Linked DNA regions of Homo sapiens: region 1 is linked to region 2. The links are contacts of gene promoters, found by promoter capture Hi-C in blood cells and fetal thymus (Javierre and others, 2016). All regions are on one chromosome and are shown on one strand. Each heading gives the region's core, a stretch centred on a gene start or on the middle of the fragment in contact. The rest is flanking DNA. Distances are from core to core; before and after follow the strand shown.

What was found. Contacts are between HindIII fragments. The CHiCAGO score rates a contact against its expected background, and 5 or more counts as called.
Region 1: a fragment that was not itself captured here is called in contact with the fragment with the promoter of ARPP21 in region 2 in 1 of 17 cell types (fetal thymus); the score reaches 9.6 in fetal thymus.

What each region holds. Positions count from the first base shown.
Region 1 is chr3:35,307,817-35,312,164 of GRCh38, reverse strand. The region is part of intron 1 of LOC101928135 (a long non-coding RNA gene); the gene reads left to right. Among named protein-coding and RNA genes, the nearest start is that of ARPP21, 330 kb to the left of the region's middle. The HindIII fragment of the contact is 1,332 bases long and covers 1,463-2,794 here.
Region 2 is chr3:35,636,139-35,640,882 of GRCh38, reverse strand. ARPP21 (cAMP regulated phosphoprotein 21) reads right to left here and starts at 1,358. Exons shown (of 21, transcript NM_001385562.1): 1 at 485-1,358. The HindIII fragment of the contact is 6,229 bases long and covers 1-3,603 here.

The sequences.
Region 1 (4,348 bases), core at 879-3,378, 330 kb after region 2:
GAAAACAGTAATAACAATAACAAAAAACTGAAAGTAAGACAATAACCACATAAGACCAATAAATTAAAAAAGGGAAAAGAGAGATTGATGTGGCTGTGCTAGTTTTCTCAGCTCTCCTAATGAAGACTATGTATCCTGTCTACTAAATCAGAGACTAGATGGTTAAAAACATTCCCATTAAAACAGCAACCATTACAAGTTCTAAAAGGAATCTTATGTTACAAATTAGCAGGAATAAAAATGTTTATTCAAACAAAAGCATACCACAAAACAACTGGAGAAAAAATTATATAGTAAAATGGCAGAGAGCAATGTAAACATAAAAGTGTTTTTAAAAGAAGAAATAAAGGCAGAATTAATTCAAAATATAAATATTATATTAATATAAATGGAAAATTTGTACTCATTAAAATAACAAAATTCTAATAGATGAAAATTTTAAACTAACCCCATATATTGAATAAATATATCTTAGAAATTTCAAGATTAAAAGAATAATTTTAATTTTTAAAAATTAATTTTAAAAAATGCTTGACATATTAAACAAGATAGTTGGTATATGATAAACAGTCAATTAAGTTTGTTTGGGGCATAAAATATCAAATAAAATAAAAATCGAGGCCAGGTGCAGTGGCTAATACCTATAATTCCGAGCACTTTGGGAGGCCAAGGCAGGTGGATCACCTGAGGTCAGAAGTTGGAGACCAGCCTGGTCAACATGGTGAAACCCCCTTCTCTACTAAAAATACAAAAATTTGCTGGGCATGGTGGCCTGCACCTGTAATCCCAGCTGCTCAGGAGGCGGAGACAGGAGAATTACTTGAACCTGGGAGCTGGAGGTTGCAGTGAGCTGAGATTATACCACAGCACTCCAGCCTGAGCAACAAGAGTGAAACTCTGTCTCAAAAACAAACAAACAAACAAAAAAACCAAACACACCAAAGAAGAAACAAAATAAAAATAGATAATGTAAAATGATAAAGGATAAAGGTAATATATACAACTTGGACCCATCTATCATCATCACAGTATGTATTGATTTAAATAAATAACTCAGATATCTCAGATATTGCAAGGATAAATTGACGGAAATACAATGGAAGCATCCACTCATAGCATATTATATGTATCATGAAAATAAGAAGTAGATTGTCTGAATACAATGACTAATAAGGTTGATTCGTGGATATATTTGAAAATGTTACACTTTAATAAAAGCTTTCTTTTTAGCTACTCACAAGGAATTTAAAAACTTATTCCTATAGAAAGCCTTAAAACAAACCTTAGTAATCCAGCCTAATGAAATGCAGTAAGAAAATAAATTGGCAACCCAAAAAGGACCAGCTATAAAACCATAAATATCTGTGAAGGTAAAAATGAAAACAAAAAATAAGTATGTTAACCTTAAATAATAAGATTCAGAAAATATGATTAAGTTTAGAGTTTATTGAAGGGCAAAGCTTGAGGGTGATCACCTGTGAAGCACCAACCTCAAATTGGGTCAGTGTTCCAAAATAAAGAAGTTAAGGTTTCACTTATATAGGCAGAGACAGATAAATTTTAGCAGGATTACAACATTTCCCACACAAGACCAGTGCATGTTACAGGAATTCTATTGGTTACACGTTGCTACATTCCAAGAAAGATAACTGTATTACTCTGTGAGGACAGTAGTGATCAGAAGGGGTATCATCTCTGGTACCATTTGGTCTTCCTAATTATTTGCAGCAACAAAAGGCAGAAGTTGCAGCTGCATGCCACCTGACTCAGGCCACATAGCCACATTTCTCACAAGGCTTCGAATAATTTAAAGTTTCAACAGCTTTACATCTGAAATATTTAATTTCAGAAGTGTATATCTTTTGCCAAAGATAAAAACAGAAACCACAGAAAGATATAATCATAACATGTTTGCTGTGTATATTGTCAGAAATGTGAATATTACAATCTTTTGACATATATGTATGTATGTATTTTTTATAAACAAGTTTTTAATATTAGCCTAGAAAAGAAAGCTGATCTTGGTTCCTGAGACTGAGATTTATAGCAACCAGTGATATTTAGGCAAAGCACTTCCAGTATCCCTTCCAGGGCTTCACTAAGTCTTTTCCGCACTTCTCAAAACTCCAAGTTTCACTGATTTTCAAATTCCTCCCCTTTGGACACTAGTTTTCTGCTGTTTTTCACACTCTGCTTTAATGTCACAGTGGTTTGCCTCACTTTTTTTCAAGTTCTGTTTCACCTTTTAAAGCACCAAGCTAAGAGTTTCTCTTCACTGCATACTTAAAAAATGGATAGTTTAGAATAATAGACAATTTCCATAAGTACCATTTAACCATATAGCACTTATAGTTACACAGTGTCTTATGGTTAAAAATAGGCATTATTAATAAATATTCCCTGGTCACATAAATTTACAAATTGAGCACGTCTTCCTGAGAAACCTGACAGAATCTGCAAATTGCATATAATTCCCGAGGACTACTTTATGTTGGGATAATATATGTGGTATTTTATTTTTATTTAACAGGTATACAATTAATGTTTTCACATATTAAAAATACTAACCATTGAAAGGGAAATAAAATTTTACTAAAGTCTTTCCTTTAACCCCATTCATTAGATAACAAAATACCGAAAATATGTCTGTATTTAGTTTTTCTTTGTTTAACATTTTAAGATTATGTTTAACATTTAAGATTAAGAAATGTTTAACATTTTAAGATTATATTATATATATATATAAGATGTATATATATATCTTCATTCCTGATTATTGTTTTCTAGACAAGCTTTACAATCTCCCTGCTTTAGAAAACATTCATATGTTACTACCCACCTTCCCATTTTCTCCCTTCTAACTTCTAATCCCAATATTGTTGGATATATTACTATTATTTTCAGAGATTGACACTTCTAGCATTAAATTCTAAATTTAATATTTATTTCTTGATTTATCAAGCTTTGAAAATACCTACTAATTTTGTGCTATAAAAGAGAATGGAATAAGGACTTTATTTCTTTCATCTCTCTTCCCCCTTCCTATTACTATAAATATTGTATTTTACATTTACAAGGTTTATAGAATATACATTCTATTTCATTAAATAGCATTGAATTATTTGTGGTTTGTCGGTACTTTGATTTTCAAAAAAGAAAGCAATAATAGTATTCATAATATTATGATTATGTACATGTACATCACATTCATACAATAATGAAATTGTGTAGTTGAAACCATGTAAAAGAAAATGCAGCCTCACATCTTACAAAATTTCGAATTGTATATGTATTTCAGTGTGTTAGAGTGTATGAATTGTATATGTATTTCAGCGTGTTAGAGTGTATGAATTGTATATGTATTTCAGCGTGTTAGAGTGTATGAATTGTATATGTATTTCAGCGTGTTAGAGTGTATGAATTGTATATGTATTTCAGCGTGTTAGAGTGTATGAATTGTATATGTATTTCAGTGTGTTAGAGTGTATGAATTGTATATGTATTTCAGTGTGTTAGAGTGTATGAACTGTATATGTATTTCAGTGTGTTAGATTACACTTTATTTTTTGCTAGCATTCCCATTCTGCATTATGCTCAATTGTCATTGTTTATTTTAGCTCATGTTACCCCTGAGTTAAATTACTTTTAATTTCATTGAAATTACATCCTGATGAATATGTTTTTAAAATGTACTTGGCCAGGCATGGTGGCTCAAGCTTATAATCCTAACACTTTGGGAGGCCCATGTGGGCAGATCATGAGGTCAGGAGATCGAGACCATCCTGGCTAACACGGTAAAACCCATCTCTACTAAAAATACAGAAATTAGCCAGGCGTGGTGGCATGGGCCTGTAATTCCAGCTACTTGAGAGGCTGAGGCAGGAGAATTGCTTGAACCTGGGAAGTGGAGGTTGCAGTGAGCCAAGATCACACCACTGCACTCCAGCCTGGGCAACAGAGCGAGACTCCTGCTCAAAACAAACCAAAACAAAAAAATGTACTTAGAGAATAATGAATGTTGTAACCTTTTTCATAAATAAAACATCTTTATTTTGCCCTCATATTGGATTGGGGATGAAACTCTAGGTTTAAAGGTGATTTTTTTTCCCCCTCAGAATTGAGGACTTTTAAAATTATTTTCTGTATTCAATGTTGTTAAGACAGTGTATGGCTGTTTCTATAACGTTTTCTGTGTAAATAACTTTCTGTTCTTATTTAAAAGCTTTTAGAATTTTCTTTTTATCTTTGAGGAAATGGAAATTCAATATGTGTACATATGGATAATACTTCATTAGTCCTGCTTTCCATTCAACATGCCACCTCAATTAAATAACTGTTTCTTCATTTC
Region 2 (4,744 bases), core at 109-2,608:
GAGACAGAAAAGAGTAAATTGGCGATTGCAATGAAGCACAGATTTCATGCATGTAAAAATAAAACTGAACATCTTTTCTATTCTTCCCCTTGAGCCCTTTGGGACCTAGGACCCCAATCCTTCCAGGACAACAAACAGAGTATAACTTTCTACCTCTTCAATAGGTCTCTTTCAAAAAGAGCATTGCAAACTTTCTACCATAAAGCCTATACAAATCACTGTAGACTTCTCTGATGAAAATCATTGCCAACTTCCAGCTTTCCATTTCTGTCTTTTCTGGGGGAAGGAGCGTCCATCCCTCCTTGACGAAACATAAAAAACACAATACATGTATAACAACATCAGCTTTCTACAAACACGAAGAAGAAATACAGACAAGAAAAAATTCAAAAGAAACAGACAGATATATGGCAGAAAGAAAGAAGGAATTCTAAAAATCCACAAAAGGCGTGCAATGTTCACGTCGGAAGACCTTGATTATTACCTTGATCGAACTGTGGATATCCCCCCTGCGTCTTGGTGCCTTGATTGGTTTGATTTAGTTTTGGATTTTATTAATATTATTGTTTCTCAATGATTGATTTGGCTGGATTTGTTTGTTTTGGCTTTTGGCTTGGCTTTTGTTGTTGTTGTTGTTGTTGGGTTTGTTTGTTTGTTTTGTTTTTGGTCGATTTATTTAACTGCTAGTAAAAGGAGCTTTCTGCAGTGTCGGCTGGGATCCCACACAGCTGTGGCAGCCAGGGCTGCGGCGGCGGCTCGGTCGCGGCTTGTGTCCCCGCTGCCCCTGCTGCTGCTGGTCTCTGCTCCGGACGCGCTCAGAAGGTGCCACCGCCGCCTTCTCTGGCCGGCTGGCCGCCGGGAGTGAACGCGCCCCCGCCTCCTGTCTGCTCTTCTGTCCGTCTGCACGTCTGTCAGTCCGACCGTCTGTGGGTCCGACTAGCAGCTCGGCGCGGGATTCTCGCTTTGCTGCGCTCTGCTCTCAAAGCTGCCACTCTCGCAGGCTGCCAGTCTGTGCGCTGGTCTGTCCGTCCGTCCGAATCCCTCCGTCCCACCAGCAATGCAGCGTCCCTCTTCCGGTCTTCTGTGCCCACAGTCCTCTCCCACTCTGTGCCCCTGGCCGCTTCGCTCGGTAAGAGGAGGGCGTGTGGAGGGAGGGAGCACGCGAGTGTTGCTGTCTATCTTTCTGTGTGCCTCTCCCTGCCTACTTAATGCTCTCGCTCTCTTTGCGTTCTGGTCTCCCTCTCTCAGGCTGTCTGACTGCTCCCACCTGTCCGTAGCTCTGCCAGTCCCACCCCTAGCCAGCCAGCCTCGGTCGATCCCTCGGTCCCGTTCCTCCAGCTTGGCCGCCTCCGTCGTCTGCCCCTCCGCCGGTCCGTGCCCTCCCACGCGGCTGGCACTGCCGCCGGGGGCGGCGCCCGGCTCCTCCCCGCAGCTCCGGATGCGTCCGGTCCCCGCCCGGGCTGAGGGCAACGCGCGTGTTGCACGTGGCTCCACAGCTGCTCTGGCCGGAGACCCCGGGCCCCAGACCCGCCACACCCGGGAGGTGGCGGCAGCCGGACGCCTGCCAGTGTCGCCGCCTCTGCGCCACTGGGAGCATCCAGAACTGGCCCATCCAGAGTGATGGCACCTGCTGGGTGCGCCGGGCGCCCGCGGTACCACTCATTCCCTGGGCCGTTCTCCGCCAGCCCTAAGGCTGGAGACAAAGCGCATGAGCCACGCGCAGCAGCGTGAGCATCATTAATCAGAAAGAAAACTGGCACGTTGCCCCCTGCCCCGCCACACCGCCTCCCTGCTCCCAGCGAGCAGGCATGTATTCTCTCTTGTCCCCCGTGCCCAGGCCCTCCAGCGTACCCGTCTCGGGGGCGCCCCTGGACTCCTGGGGACTCTTGACGAAGCCTTGTTCCACTCCCTCCACCGCTCACTCTCCAGGCCAACTCTGCAGAGACAATCCCACAATAATAACACCTCGCCCCACCCGAATGAATCCGTAGCCTCAGCGCTCTTGGAGATTCTTTGCTTTGAGCAAGACTGAAAGTCCGAACGTGCAGCACCAAGTGTACTCCCTGTGGGTGACTGCCCAGACCGCTGCCCACCTGATCGCTGATTTGGAATCACAGAGGTGCCACAGAAACCTGGGCAGGGTAGGACCTGGGGAAGGAACAGAGTTGACACCTGAAGAAATAAAAGCCTTGATTTTACCGCTTGTTCTAGAGATGCACTATTTTTATTGTCTGTAATTCATTGTTTTTTTTCATTGTCTCGGAGCACTCACTAACACACTACAAGGAAGGAAAAAAAAAAAAAAAGGAAAAGGCGTAGTGAAGGAGAGTGAATAAATTTCCGGAATTCCACCTACTCCTTCTGAGTGAATGTAGAGCCTACTTTTCCAACATTATAGGTCACCAGCCAAGATATACCACTCTAGCTTTCTGCTCCCAGCTGAGAGCAAGGCATTTGATTCTGGGCTTCTTTGCAAGGTTGTTATTAATGTGCAGCAAAATTATAGTTGTACACTCACACATGGAATTGCCAAAGCTCATTTTGACTATATCCAGCAATTCAGCTTCTGAAATGTAGACACTGAATAACTGTGTATCTGGCGAAATGAACGCCCCATCCCACAATAAACTGAAGAGGAGAAAATCAACTTTTACCAGTTGTAATTAGTAACCCCATGAATAGACAACAAACAAATAACTAGCATAAAACATGTTATGAAATTTTCCACATCCTTTTAGTTTCACTTATTGACACCCAACCATAATGACAGAGATTACAAACAGATTTATTAACATAAATGCCTTTGCATTATTATAGAAATGTGATTTCTACAGCTATGGCTGTGTTCATATACGCTAAGATATTGATTATAAATCTCAAATAAATGATACATGTACTTCTAGAAACTACTGTAAAAATGGAATGAGGTTGTACCGACCCTTGATGAGTAGGTAATTATTTTCCAACTATTCGAAATTGTCTCCCTTGGTGTTCAGCTCTCACTAGAATAAGAATGAATCTGCTGTATGAGGTTTCAGGCAAACCAAACCCAAATAATTCAAAACTGTTACTTTGATCTACATCCTGATCATTTCCACGTAGTCATCTCCAGAAGTGCTTTTTTACAAGTATTTTCTCCTTCCTTCCAAACATATAAAATTTAAAGGAAAATTATGAAAGCATTTCTAATTTACTACCCTTCCCTTCATCTCAAGTCATTCTGAAAAACCTATTTTTCTTTGAGGGAAATTGAGACTGCATAGGAAGAAAGTTGGCGTATTTGATTTCTCTTCTGGACAGAACTACATCTCGGCATCTCCTGAATGGTTGGACAGGTAATCTATTAACAGGAAACCTTAGCAGATTGATCATAACACAAAGTCTCTACAAAAAAAAAATCAGAATTCACTCAGATAGTTTATTTTTTTTAAATGGAACCCAGTTCTATAAACTGGATGAGAAATTATACCTAGGGAGAACTCAGTATTCTTAGTACATACTCCAGTGCCTATGTGAAAGAACGAAACAGTGATTTCATAGCTTAACTGCGTATTGTCAAACTTGATGACAATATTTATTGTATTATCTCATGGATTTTAAGCTTTATTTTTCAAAGAAAGCATCCCAAAGAAGAATAATTTGCTTCAACTAAATTTTCTATCTTTTCTCATAATATTTTGTCAACATAGTGGGAACTGTAGAAGGCTCAAGTTTATTTGAGGCTATGTAGATAATTAGCATTCAGCTACTCAACTTTAAAATTTTTGTCCCAATGTGGGACTGAAATATACCATTGGGAGTATCAGGCATGCAGTGAGCAATGAGTGATTCTTCTAGGTGTTCAGAAAGTTTTTCTATTTTTTTAAACTATTTAAAACAGTTATCATGCTTTAAGTCCCTTAGATTGTCATATATTAACTATCACTAAACTAAATAAAACCTTTGTCCTCCGTATTAGACCTCTAGGTGACAGATTGACTATGTCAATTGCAGATGTGTTTATGCACCAAGAGCACCCTACGCTGAGGAATGGGAGGCGGTACTTGGGAAAGAGGGAGTGGTACTGTTACTCTTTTGGTTTGAGGACTTTTGAATCTATTTTGTATTATGTTTGAAATCAAGGAGCATGCATGTAACCGGGTAACCCCAGCTTGGGGAAATGAGCTCACCTATACACTGGCAAACATCTAAGATTGTTGACAAGCTCCTTTAAACATATATTCCCCTAAGACACTAAATTAGTGCCCTTTAATGAAGCTACCAAATTGGATTTTCAAAATAAGGCAAATTGCTAAAATAGCCCAGCTACCTTTATAAGCACTTTTTAGCTGGAGCGAGAAGTAGAGTTGCCGTGCTGTTGAACTTTCATCACTCGTCAACAATTAGGCTGTGAGGAGCTCCCCTTTAGGGCATACTCCCACACCACAATAAAGGCCCACAAATCCCCTAGAGAGACTTCTTATTTGCCCTGTTTCCAACAAAACAGTCTAGGGTCCATTACATACCATTCTTGGGTGTAAAGCTTTACAAATATGCATAGTACCAAAAAGCAGGAGAAAAAGAAAAGAAAAAGCCCCAAAGATTAGCTTTTCAACCAGAAAGTTTTGAGCCCCATTCTTATTTTGTGTGAAGCCAAAATAACTCTAAAACACATTTCAGAACATCAACAAAGAATGTTACATCATGTATGCATCTGAGCATGAAGAAATGTCACGATCAAAAACAAAGAGGATTTGGGAGACTA